Regions from separate parts of the Homo sapiens genome. Here region 2 is linked to region 1. Evidence: promoter capture Hi-C in human tissues and cell types (Jung and others, 2019). All regions are on one chromosome and are shown on one strand. The core of a region is centred on a gene start or on the middle of the fragment in contact, and the rest is flanking DNA. Distances in the headings are between cores, read along the strand shown. Region 1 overlaps FUBP3 (far upstream element binding protein 3). Region 2 holds the start of QRFP (pyroglutamylated RFamide peptide).

Region 1 (6,814 bases), core at 1,871-4,370:
CTCTTTATTAGTGCTAATTTCTTTCAAATGTATGTGCAATGGACTAATGGGAGAAAAATGTCTGCAAAATGCTAGAGGGTTTCATTTGCAAATATTTAGGTATTCCTTATGCAGAGGACGCAGCAGATACCTGCTCACTGCAAGCACAAGTTTTAACCCTTCAGCGCCAGGCAGTGGGTGAAAAAAACAAGGCTGAATTGTGAAATTGTTGTGAAAGGCTGAATGAGTTGTGAAATATATTGATCTCAATTTCTGGAAACACTGGGCCAAAGAGACACTGTCCGTTAGTGAGGTGTGTGCACAGAGGCAGACAACTTAGTTTTGTTTTTACGTTGCTGTCTCAAGAGGAACCAAAGTATGATTGCCTCGAAAAGGTAAAGAGGTTACTTTGCATTACAGCTTTCTGCTAAGGCAAAAATGCAGTTAATGCAATCATCCCTATTTGGCCTAGGGAATCACTAACACCAGTCAAATATAAAAAGATCACAGCGTACTATTTTGGATAAGTAGTTTAAATGGTTATCTTAGTTCCAGTGGCCCTGGGGTGGATTTTCTGTTTTGTGGTCATAAACACTTTGTAAATACACACGAATTTTTACAATCAAGTGAGTGCCATCCCCTTAAAATCTTCAGTGTGAGTCTAAAGAATTTTCCCCCAAAGGCTCCCACATCTAAAAACAGTGGCCATCTCCTCTTAGAATTCCTAGAGATGCCCAGCATGGTGGCTCACACCTGTAATCCCAGCTACCCAGGAGGCTGAGGTGGTGGGAAAGCTTGAGCCCAGACATTCGAGGCCAGCCTGGGCAACATAGCAAAACCGTATTTCCGAAAAATAAATAAGGCCGGGCACTGTGGCTCACGCCTGTAATCCCAGCACTTTGGGAGGCCAAGGCAGGCAAATCACGAGGTCAGGAGATTGAGACCATCCTGGCTGACACGGTGAAACCCCGTCTCTACTAAAAATACAAAAAATTAGCTGGATGTCATGGCACGCGCCTGTAGTCCCAGCTGCTTGGGAGGCTGAGGCAGGAGAATCACTTGAACCTGGGAGACGGAGGTTGCAGTGAGCCAAGATCGCACCACTGCACTCCAGCCTGGGCAACAGAGTGAGACTCCATCTCAAAAAATACATATATACATATATAGATACACATATATACACACATATATACACATATATATAAGTATATGTGTGTGTGTGTGTGTGTGTGTGTATATATATATATATGTAAAGTTTTTTTTAATATGCTAGGCAGTGGAACAAGGGAAAGGATTTGTTCCTGATATAGAAAGGGATTTGGGTTAGTTGTGTTTCAGAGAGTGGCAGTTTTGAGCCACTTGTCAGAACGCTGTTCATGAGTCTGCTTAGAACCCAGAGCAGAATTTAGAGCTCAGTTTGAAAGCTTGCCTGAATGCCTGTCCGTGGGAAGAGCAGTCACCAGTCACTCCACCGCCCTCCAGCTTTGGATCAGGCCATTTTAACCTTCACTGTCTTCAATCTTGATACCCACATGTTCCAGCAGTCTTTGATATGCATCCTTGGCACCCCACCAGTTCAGGAATCTGCCTTCTGGTCTCAGTTGTGGCACCTTTTTCATCCAGTACTTCTCTCATGTTTCAACTGGAGCCTCTCCCTGCAGTCAGTCCAACCAGTTTCATTCCTCCAGTAACCAGGGAGGTGCAGATCTTGCAACCTGGCCATTGCCTGCCCTCCCGCTTGGCTCCTCCCGTGCACCTCCTGTGCTCCTCCTGTGTAGCAGCCTGGCTGCCTGTCTCCTCTCTCCCCTCACCCAGCTCTTAACCTGCCCAACTCCTGCTCAGCCAACTTCTTCCTAGAAACCTGTCCTCTTCCTTATCTTTTGACTTTCTTCGGGGCTCAGCCCACATGCCACCTAGCCTCTTGGTCTTCTCTCTACCTTTTCCTTCCTTCCTCCCTCCCTCCCTCCCTCCCTCCCTCTTTCCCCCTCTTTTCCCTTTTTCACACACCCACCTGACCAGTGAATATTAAGTCATATCCTTCTCTGAATTTCTAAAGCAGTGTATTTGCCCTCTGCTCAGGGCAGACCTTCCTTCCGCGGTTACTGGGTCCCGCTGTGCACCTCTCCTAGCAGAGCCTACGTGATGTGGCCATAAAGACTGGCTTCATTTCCCATGGACTCTTCATGCTCAAGTTCTCCCATGTTTTTCATGCTCAAGTTCTCCCGTGTTTCCTACGATTTGCATTTTTAAATTTTGGGAAAAGTAAGTTCCAAATTTAAGACAATAGTATTAGCTAAGTGATTTAGAAGTGCGAATTTAAATGTAATCTAAATTAGAGGTTGGCAAGCTTTTCTTTCTTTTTTTTAAAGACAGGGTCTCACTCTTGCTGAGGCTGGAGTGCAGTGGGGCAGTCATGGTTCACTGCAGCCTCTATCCCCCAGGCTCAGGTGATCCTCCCACCTCAGCCTCCTGGGTAGCTGGGACTGCACTGCACCTGGCAACAAGCTTTTTTATAAAGGACCTGATAGTAAGCATTTTAGGGGCCAGGCATGGTGGCTTATGCCTATAATCCCAGCACTTTGGGAGGCCGAGGTGGGAGGATTGCTTGCGTCCAGGAGTTTGAGACCAGCCTGGGCAATATAGCAAGACCCCATCTCTACAAAAAAATGAAAGAAGATTAGCTGGGTGTGGTGGTGCATGCCTGCAGCCCCAGCTACTCAGGAGGCTGAGGTGGGAGGATTGCCTGAGCCTGGGAGGTCAAGACCACAGTAAGCAGTGATCGCACCACTGCACTCCGCTTGGGTGACATAGTGATCTCAGAACAAACAAAAATAAATTTAAGCTTGCAGGCTATGTATCCCACCTACTAAGCTACGCTATTGGAGTTCAAAAACAGCTGTAGCATCTACATAAACAAAGAGCATGGCTGTGAGCCAATAAGATATTTCACCGAAACAGGCAGCTGGCCCTCAAGCTTAATTTGCCAGCCCTCAACTAAAATCAGCCTCATCAGTTGATGAAAACATTTTCTTCATCTTTAGTTAGGGAAGTATATAGAGAGTACCCCTCCCCCAGTTTCTTTAAACAAGTCTCCCGTCTCATGGTTCACTGTCCAACTGCCCTAACCACCTGAAACAAGTGCTTTCTCATGTTTGCCCAGAGCTGATGGACAGACAGAGAAGTCACTTCCCATTTGTCCCTCTGTATCTCTCCTGATCAAAGATCAAAGCCTTTCCAGTTTTCTTCCTCAGGAGCATTTTTAGGAGCTTTTTTAGTTGAACTAAGCAGGCCTCATACTCCCCCTGCATTCTGTGTAGTGGGTGGCACCAAAACCAGGACTTCAGGAGAGTACAGCACTGTCCTCACCACTGGGGTGGCGGGGGTAAGGCCATGCAAGGGGCTTTGAAACTATGCCTGCCTCTTCACTCAAAGACTCGTCTTTGCTATTTATGTAGCACCTTTTTTTTTGTCCTTTTTATTCTTTTTACTTCATGACCTGCTGAAGAACAGCACCTTTTATAGTACCACACTTTCTACTTTTGATAATACAGTTGTTCCCCATTTATTCATGACTTCGTTTTCCACGGTTTCAGTTACCCACGGTCAACCACTGCCGAAATTATTAAATGGAAATTTTAGAAATAATTCCTAATTTTTTTTTTTTTTTTTTGAGATGGAGTCTTGCTCTGTCACCCAGGCTGGAGTGTAGTGGTGCGATCTTGGCTCACTGCAACCTCTGCCTCCCAGGTTCAAGTGATTCTCCTGCCTCAGCCTCCCAATTAGCTGGGATTACAGGCGTGCGCCACCACAACTAGCTAATTTTTGTATTTTTAGTAGAGATGGGGTTTCACCATGTTGGCCAGGCTGGTCTTGAACTCCTGACCTCGTGATCCACCTGCCTCGGCCTCCCAGAGGGCTGGGATTACAGGCGTGAGCCACCGCACCCAGCCAATTCCTAATTTTTAAATTGTACACCATTCTGAGTAGCATGTGTATCCACACTGTATACACTACCCACTCACCAATGTATAGGAAAAAATGTAGCGTATACAGGGTTCGGTACTCTCCATGGCTTCAGCCACCTACCAGGGGTCTTGGAACATATCCCTCATGGATGAGGGGGAACTGCTGTATTCTTACGGGGTAAAGGACGAATTCTTGGGCGTTCTGTCAAATGAATTATTTGCAGGAAGAGTGAAATAGACTATTTCTGTGATCCTTTCCAAGCTTTGTTTCAGTACTTGTGGCATAGGGCAAGGACAGAAAAGGAAGACAGGAGGGAGGAAAAGACGTTTGAAAATCCCAGACCTCAAGGAGAGACAGGAGATAGGAGGTACAAGTGCTAGCGGTGGTGAGAGCCATGATGCCCGGACCCCTGCCTGTGACCTGCACCCCAGGCAGGTGCTGAGGCCACCAGTCTCCACTCTGGAAAGAGGGAAGTGAATCTCAGAAGTGTTGATACTTTCCCTGAATGGGGGATGATGACAGATATTGGAGGGATGAAAAGCCAAGACCAAAACCTAGTTCCTGAGAGTAGGAGGGGTTAGGAGGAAGGTTTGCCTTTTGTGAAGAGGGAAGAGGTAAAGTGAGGCTGGGATGTGGTTGGGCAGTCATCATCAAGGGCAGATGAAGGCTTTCCAGGGGCGGTGGACATGGGCAGGCTTCCCAGGTTCCTTTTTCAGCTCCTTACCTCCTGTCTGCCCTCTTCCCTAAAATGGGCCTTTCTGAGAGTCACGTCTGCCCCTGAAGGTTATGCCCTTCCTGCCACGCCCCTTCTCCCGTTCCCCACTTTTGGTGTACAGTGGGCGGTCACCTGGGGTGGAAAAATCCCCAAGCAGTGGGGCCAGGCAAGAATTCTGAATGGAGAATCCCAAGGTAACAAAGGGTAGAGCCTTGGTAAGAAACAGTGAAGGGAGGCTGGGCATGGTAGCTCACGCCTGTAATCCCAGCACTTTGGGAGGCTGAAGCGGGAGGATCACCTGAGGTCAAGAGTTCAAGACCAGCCTGGCCAACATGGTAAAACCCAGTCTCTACTAAAAATACAAAAATTAGCTGGATGTGGTGGCGTGCACCTGTAGTCCCAGCTCTTCGGGAGGCTGAGGTGGGAGAATGGCCTGAACCCGGGAGGCAGAGGTTGCAGTGAGCTGAAACCGTGTCACTGCACTCCAGCCTGGGCGACAGAGCAAGACTCTGTCTCCAAAAAAAAAAAAAAAAAAAAACAAATAGTGAAGGGGACAGGGTCTGATTTTATCCAGTTGACAACTCCTGGCACAGGCTCTGTGCCCTACCCCCCTACCTCAGCCACCTGCATTTGTTTCTTCCTCCCTCCCTTCACCCATCTATGCATTTTAGGATTATAATTCAGAAGTGAGATGATACTCACATGGGTACATACATATGTGTAAGTTGGAAAAAGGCAGTGAGATTTTTCCCCTTGGCAAAGCATCATGTGACTGGTTGGTGGACAGTTGGCTTAGCCAGCTAGGTAAAATAGTATTCATTTTCCACAAAAATGAATGAGCTAAACCTGCAGCATCAATGTTGTGACAAAAATATAACTCGAGCTCATGTACAATGCCTGTTACATTCTTCGCAGCTGTTAATAGGGAAGAAAAGTAGTTGCCAAATTAAAAGAGGATTCATAGGTTTCCAGAGTTCAACTTGATGGTAGAACCTCTCTCGAATACAGTTTGGGAGTGTCACAAAACTAAACATGCACTTACGCACAGTCCACAACTGCACTGTTGGGCATTTATCCCCAAGAAAGGAAAATGTTCACACAAGAGCCTGTTCACATAGCAGCTTTATTCATAATAGTCCCAAACTGAAAACAGCCCACGTGTCCTTCAACTGATGAATGGTTCTGCTTGCGATACAGCCATACCGTGGAATATCACTCAGCGGTAAAACGGAACAAATGCTGAGTACATCCAGCAACTTGGATCAATCTCCAGGGAATTATGCCGAGTGCCAGAAACCAATCCCAAAAAACTACATACTGCATGATCCCCTTTATGTAACCTTTTGGGAACGGAGAACAGATTAGTGGTTGCCAGTGGTTAGGGATTGAGTCGGAGGAGAGGGGGTCACCTAAGATCACAGCTAGAAGGGAACCTGAAGCTTAAACTCCTTATTGTTGTAGATAAGGAAACCAGTGTCTCTGAAGAAGTAAGTGGTTTGACCAAGGCCAGATAGATACATGATAAGTGACAGAAGGGAGGTTGAACCTGGGTCTCTGTCTCATGTGCCATAATAGTATAGTACTTAAACATGTGGACTTCAGAGTCTGACAGATCAAGGTTTGAATCCCAGCTTTGCTAGTCATTAGCTGTTTGACCTTGGGCAAGTTCCTTAACGTCTCTGAGCCTGTGTTTCCTCATCTGTACAATGGACCTGATGATACCTGCCTCATCAGATTATCATGAGGGTTATATCATGTTATTTTCAAGCTTTAAGAAATACTACTCCCGGGCCTGGCATGGTTGCTCATGCTTGTAATCCCCTTTGGGAGGCCAAGGCAGACAGATCAACGAGGTCAGGAGATTGAAACCATCCTGGCCAACAAGGTGAAACCCCGCCTCTATTAAAATACAAAAAAATTAGCTGGGCATGGTGGTGCGCGCCTTTAGTCCCAGCTACTCGGGAGGCTGAGGCAGGGGAATCACTTGAACCCAGGAGGTGGAGATTGCAGTGAGCCGAGATCGTGCCACTGCACTCCAGCCTGGCGACAGAGCAAGACTCTGTCTCAAACAAAAAAAAAAAAAAAGAAAGAAATACCACTCCCAATGTGAGAAAAACTGTTTCCATCAGAACTAGTTAGTACAGACATATTAAA
Region 2 (6,814 bases), core at 4,315-6,814, 300 kb after region 1:
GACAGCATATCCACTGCTTTGAAGGCATCCCCCGCCCCCGTGTTCTTTATCTCAGGTTTTTCCATCAAGGTTAATCTAATCCTGCTAAATTAACAACCAGCCAGTGCATCCCCAAAGAGCCTGTGGAATGTGCAGGGTGGCTCAGCCTCGGTGTTCTCTAAAGTACTGGCTGTGGGTGGCTCCTTGCTCACTTGCAGAAGTTGGCAAGTGACGAGTGGCCAGGGGACCGTGCGTCAGGGCGTCCCTCTGCCCTCAGCCTGCTGTGTTTCACCCGGTCTCTGGTGAGCACATCTCTGGCTGCTTTGCGTGAATGAGCCAAGGGAGGGATAGATCTAGCTTACTGCCTCCCCCTCCCTTAAGCCAAGCAGAATGGGGTGTGTGTGCACACCTGTGGTGAACGAATCTGTCCGTTCACCCTGTGCCAGGGCCGTCCTTACAGCAAGGACCCCGGGGATGTGTCCGTCCCCATCAGTGTCATGTTAGCAAGCAGTGACAACATCCCTTTGCAGGAGGCATCCTGAACCACTCTGTCCTCAGACAGTGGCAGAGCCCAAGAGAACAATGTGCCCCACCCCTCCACCAGCCTCAGGAATCATTGTCTTGTCCCCATCACAGCAGCCCTAAGACTCAGGGCACATGCGCCAAGCCTGGGGGGCTAGTTTCTGTGTGGGAAGCGATGGGGAAGCGGTGAGGAGCTCCTGGAGAAGGTGGCAGCTTTCATACCGGGTGATGTTCTGACTCTGGTGTTCTCTCCCATCTCAGCACCCATTCTGCTCCCCAGTCAGGTTGGTTCTTTGTGGCTCAGATCTGTCACCCCTTAATGAAGTGGCTTTCTGGCTGCCAAGGATTGAGAGCTGCTACTGAGGAGTATAAGTCACTAATAGCATGGAAAACACTGTGAAATACTCCAAGGTGCCAAGCTGGGCCCAGCCCAGTGTGGTTCTAAAAGGCTAATAAAAATCCACCAATTAATTGTGACAGCTCAATGGGAAATTATTCAATTGTGAACAGGGGCAAGCTGCAGCTCGAAAGGAGGAGGGGAGGGGTTGCCATAGTAACATCAATGTAAGTTCTCATCTCAGCAGCGGAAGCCAGCCCGGGAGTGAGCAGCATCCGACCGCCGCCTCTGACACGGGATGGGATGCAGGAGACACCAAAGGCGCGTTTGAAACAGATGCTTTGCCTGGCCCCGGGCCTGCAGCCACTCCCGGCTGAGCGTGGGCTCTCCCCGGGGCAGAGAAGTTGTTTTCCGAATGTTCCTTGCTCTTAGGAAACCTGGGAAGGAGCAGCCGAGTGGAAGTGAAAAGCACATGTGCTGTGTTCCTCCGCCCCTTTGACCGACTGCCGGTTACAGGGATCTAGAGGAGGGGTGTTTGGGTCCAGTCAACAGGAGCTCCATCTCCCGAAAGGCAAGGCACCCAGAACTCAGACTGTGGGGGAGGCCAGCATTCCAGTATGGTTTTGCAGTTGTCACAACTTTTATTTGAAAAGATACACACGACATATTCTGATTTTGAACATGTGAAATGCAACCTTGCTATAGCAAAAACGGGATTCCTTCCCAACGCATCTCCCAGGAGACTCCTGGCCGGGCTAACACTGGGCCGCGGAGAAGGGCTGCGGTCAGAGGGGCAGGCAAACCACAGCAGGGGCTTCTTGCCAGGGGGATCTTGTGCTCATGGCATGGAGAAGGGGATCGGGTTCTTTTTTCCCATTTTTAACTTTCAGAACCATCCTCTGTACCCAGTGGAATGCACTCATTTGCACTCTGATGTCAGCCGCAGTCGTGCCTATAGAGACTGTCACAACTTTGATTACCCAACTGTAAGCACTCAGCCCGCTGCCTCGCTCTGCTATTCACACTCATGGCCCAGCCACAGCCTCAGCTCCGTGCCCCTGGGGCCAGGGGGCTGCTCGGAGTCAAAGCCCCAGGGGAAGAGAGAGGCTGGGACGACCGAGGCTCCAAGACAGCCTCCTTTTTGACACTGCCTAGTTTTTCGCTTCAGCAAAGTTGGAAATCAAAAGTAAGCACACACCTAACCTGTCCTACCATGGATCGTTCATCGTAACCAAGCCTACATCATCTGGGTGTCGTGGTCTTTGAGACTGGGGGAGAAGGCAGGAGTGAAGACAATGGGGGTGAGTCCAAGAAGCAAATCCTTCCAAGGCGTCCTGGCCCTTCACCGCCGACCGAAGCGGAAGCTGAAGCCGCCTTTCTTCCTGCTGTAGCCATTGAGCTCCTCAGCCAGGTTCCCTAACGGGCCGCTGGTCTTCTCCCCCGCAGCAGGGAGGAAGCCGGTGGCCTCACTGCCTTCGTCCTGCCTCCCGAAGCGGAATCTGCAGCCAGCATGCTCTCTGCCCGATGTCTGCAGCCCCCTGGCTATGACAAGCAGGGCCTGTGGCTGTGAAGCTCTCAGCCACCGAGAGGAACCCCACACGGAGTGGGGTCGGGGCCCCATGGCCAGGTCGGCCCAGCGTTCTCCAGCTCCGAGGCCACCCATGGCGTCTGTGGGCTCTCTTCTGTCCAGTAGAGGGAAGCAGGCGCCCAGCGGCAGGAAGAGGAAGTAGATCAGGGGGTAAGGCCTTACCATCTGACCCAGAGGAAAGAGAGGCAGAGTGACAGGCTGCACACGTGGCCAAGCGCAACTCACCAAAATGTTTCCCCGGGACAGGCTGGCAGCGTAGATGTGAGCAGGGGGCTCAGCTGAGCCCGGCTTCCGAGCAGTGCTGGGACTAGGCCACTGTTTTATTAGCAGGATCAGGAGGTGATTGTGCCAGTTAGGCCGGTTCTTCTCCTGCAGTCCCCACGATCTGCGTGCCTGGGCAGCTTAGCACCGTAAATCCACCGCTGCTGGCTGGCAGAGCAGTGCCCAGGCGGCCCCGGGAGAGTCAGCAAATGTATGCTCATTTTTCTCTTATTATAAAATGGCCATATCATTGCAGAGCCATGGGGTGGAAAGTTAAAAGCATCAATCTCCCTTAGTGTTCAACTGGATAATAAATGGGTCTAGCTATGCTGTTTAGCTGGGACATCCTGCTAATGTCTCTTTCACGTGGGAACGAGTTGCTCCTGAAAGCCAGAAACAGATTGGATGGTCCTGGCCTAATTCGGACACCCACCTGGGAAGGAGTGTGTGGACACCACTGGGGCCTGGGCACCGTAGGTCTGCCAGGCTCTGAGCCAAGAGCTCACACATGTGATTGTACTTCATCTTCATAGTACTCCTGCTTGGTAGGTCCGGCCAGTCCCACTTTTTCAGGCAACAAAACTGTCAGAAAAACTGAGATTGTGCCCAGGCCACACAGCCAGAAAGTGGAGGCTCTGGATTCATGATTCTAATGGCCAGACGGCTTCTTCAAGAAGCATACATATCTGCTAGGTACTCCCAACCCTCCTATTTCACAGGGGTGGTGTCGGTCTCAAACAGCTGAGGTGACTTGCCCCAGATCTCATGGCCTTATCAGTGCCAGAGCTAGAGTTCAATCCCAGGTCTAACTGGGCTTGACTCAGGAAGGCGTGCCCTAACTCCCTCCTCTGTACTCCACATGGCACTCGGGGGATCTGAAACCCAGCCTCCTGTAATGAACCTGCCTTGGTAACACTTGCTCCCTTGTCTGGCAAAGAAAACCTTTTTGACAATGACCGCGGGGGAGCTGGAGCTGGCTTGTCCTCCGCAGAGTCAAACTGAGGCTAGACTAGAGAGCACCGGCCCTGGAGAAGACAGTACAGGAGTCCCCAGAGCCCTTTCCAGAAATGGCTCCCTCGAACACATTTCAAAGAAGCGAGCTCAGCCAGGAAGCTTTTAAAAAAATAATACATGCAACCCCACTTTCTACCCAAATCCAGTTCTTCTAAGCTTTCGTCCCCCAGGGATGGAGTGACCTCCCTCATGCTGCCAGGAAAACCTTTCCATCAGGGCGCAGGCAGAGTGGGGGCTTCCACGAGGTGACTTTCTGCAGCGGCCCAGCCCATTCCCTCCTCCCCATAGGAAGCACTTTGCTGACTGCGATGTGGACCAGGGACCGTTGCATCCTGGTGGATAAATCCACCCGGGAGTGGCCTCTGGGTGTCTAGAAAGGAGACAGCCTGACAGAGCAGGCCCTGGAGTGGCCCTTCACCCCTTTTAGGGGTTCATGCACCCCTTCAAGAATCTGGTAGAAAGTGGGGATGCTCATCACGGGACAGGCGGCCCCAGCGCGAGTCAGGGCTTCAGGCCCCACAGCCAGGAAGGGACAGGAAAAGCACGGGTGAGGCTGGGTCCCAGCCCTGGCAGGGCAGCCGTGACCAATCTGTGCTGCTCTGGGCTGTTGGCAGGGGAGGCACTGGTGTCCCCTCTCCGGGCACTCCCTCCCTGTGCTTCTGTGTGCCCTCTGACTGCCCATGCCTGGCTCCTGCCTGGGCAGGGCCTGAGCTGGGGTTCCTGCTGGGGACAGGGCAGCTATGCTCACCGTGTGGCTGGGACTGCTCCCAGGAAGGCTGGCTGGTGGATCGCTGGGCTCCGGGGCTGGGCTGGGCAGAGCTGCTCTGGGTCCTCGTCCAGGAGGCATGGCCCCTGGGCTCTCCCTGCTTTATATGGCCCGCGGTGCGCTTGCTGCTCTGCCGACTGCCTGCTGCGCATTCCTGACCCTGGGATTCCATTGGGGACGCTGTTGTTGAAGAGGGGCAGTGCTGACCGCGTTGATAAAAACAACCTCACACAGGATGTAGTCTGATGAGAGGGCAGGCGGGCTGCCCTTTGGAGGAGAGCAGACAGCATCATTAACTGCAAATTGCGGGCACAGACCCTCGAGTCCCTTGGCGGGGGTTCCAAGCCCACCCTTCACCCTAAGGGTCCTGCCTTTGCTGGGTTGGCACCTCACGCTCCGGAGAGGACATGGGGTGGGTGGACATCTACCCGACACACCTACTGCCCAGCTTGCAGGATGGCTTTCATGGGCAGGAAAGCCACAGACACCCATGAGGCCCGTGTTTCACAGGCACCGGGCTGCGCGGCTAAGCCAGGTGCACCTCCCCGGCAGGTGGAGCCCTCAGCGGCCTGTTACCCAGGAACCAACCAAGGGGGCACGGCAGATGCCCAGGACAGCAGTGGAGCATTTGCCTGTGGCCCCCAGCCCCTCCCACCGCATACCCTGGGTGGCCCCCTACTGTCACCGAGGGTCACCTCTGGGAGGCCAGCAGGAGGACCCAGCCTCTGCTCCTTGCCCGGCAGAGATTCTCCCTCCACTGAGAGCAGGCAGGGGGGTGATGAGGCAGCCCCACCCCACCACTGTCAGGAACTGAGCACAGAGGGCCTCCCCCATTCCAGGGGCCCTCACCCAGCCGACCTACCCCTGCATCCCGGCTGCTGGGGGATCAGAAGTCATGGGAATAGAGAGCCTGTGGACACTTCCCCAGAGACCTGAGGAAGGCACTGGAATCTCGATCCTCCACTTCGGGGCTGAGCGCCCAGGTTCGGGCGGAGGGTCTGCGGATTGAAGCCGATGACTGAGCTTTGCTGGCCAGAACCAGCTTCCATCCCCCAGGCCAGGGCTGCCTCCGATGGCCTGAGGTGCCCCTGTCCTGTGTGTGCATGTGTGTGTATGCCCCCACATGAGTATGTGCACACGTGCGTACACGTGTGTGTGCTCGTGAGACGGGAGGTGTGGTGTCCTTCTGTCTCCCTGGTTAGTGCTGGTTGATTCTGACAGCGGGCACCAGTTATCCATGGGGTGCCGCCCAGGGTGGGTCTCTACCGTGCTATGAGCCTGGACCGGATGCCTGCCCTCTGGGTGCCTCAGTGCTCCCTTGGTGTAAAGCGAGGTTCAAGTTCCCAAGCTGTGCTTTGCAGAATTCCTCAGGAATGGCCATGGAAGTTGGGGAAGGCAACATGGGGTCCAATCCCGCAGGCACCCCTCTCCTACAGGCACCCCACTCCCCTACAGGCTACCCCTCTGCCCTACAGGCACCCCTTTGCCCCACACGCACCCCTCTGCCCCACAGACACTCCTCTGCCCTACAGGCACCTCTCTGCCCCGCAGGCACCCCTGTGACCCACATGCACCCCTGTGCCCCGCAGGCACCCCTGTGCCCCGCACGCACCCCTGTGCCCTGCATGCACCCCTGTGCCCCGCACACACCCCTGTGCCCTGCACGCGCCCCTGTGCCCCTCAGGCCAAGCCCCACTTTGCTGTGTTTGACATGTTGAGCTCCCAGAAAAGGTTCTGCTTTGAAACCACCAGGGCCCGGAGTCCTTTTGCGGGACTGAGGTCTGTGGCTCTGAGAGGTGGTCACAGAATGTCCTGCATGTGAGGGGCTGGTCTGGGGTGGGAGCAATATTGGGGTGAGGATGAGGGGTCCCCACGTGGCCCACATGTTCCCCAGCCTCAGGTCCCCGCCTGCCCCCTTCAGACCGGGGTGCCTGGAGCCCAGTCAGGCGTTGGATTTGGTGCCAAACCTTCTGACTCCAGGGACTTGCCTGGTCCCCTCCACCCCTGGAACTCCTGGACGGAAAAATTGCTTTCAGATGCCCTTCCTGGGCCCCTGGAAGCATCTGGGTTCCCCCACCTCTTGAGCAATTGGGGGTGACAACTGTGCCACTGTTTGCCACCAGCAGCCGAGATAGGCAGGGTCTGGGCTGCCTGGATGCACAGGGTGGCCGGGGCTAGATCAGTCCAAGAGTGGCAGTACCCATCGGGGCGGCTTCCAGCGCTGGAGGCTTTTTCTGCTGTCGGGTAAATGCAGGGAGGCGAGGCGTGAGGGTGGTGGGGCTGGTGGTGCAGGAAGCCGCTCTGGGGGTGGAGTCCGTGGACCACCTCGAAGCCTGTGGGGTTCCCT

What was found. The method cuts DNA at HindIII sites, captures the fragments that hold promoters and counts their contacts. A contact is called where the count stands out against the background at its distance.
Region 2: the fragment with the promoter of QRFP here is called in contact with a fragment that was not itself captured in region 1 in 6 of the 25 tissues and cell types used here (H1 embryonic stem cells, bladder, dorsolateral prefrontal cortex and 3 more).

Annotation. Positions count from the first base shown.
Region 1 is chr9:130,598,171-130,604,984 of GRCh38, forward strand. All of the region lies in intron 2 of FUBP3 (far upstream element binding protein 3), which reads left to right. Among named protein-coding and RNA genes, the nearest start is that of FUBP3, 22 kb to the left of the region's middle. The HindIII fragment of the contact is 4,064 bases long and covers 1,089-5,152 here.
Region 2 is chr9:130,891,248-130,898,061 of GRCh38, forward strand. QRFP (pyroglutamylated RFamide peptide) reads right to left here and starts at 5,565. Exons shown (of 3, transcript NM_198180.3): 1 at 5,330-5,565; 2 at 4,450-4,734; 3 at 1,460-2,591. The coding sequence starts at 2,591. The coding sequence ends at 2,181. RefSeq lists enhancers at 2,383-2,897, 3,686-4,373, 4,374-5,060. The HindIII fragment of the contact is 19,380 bases long and covers 1-6,587 here.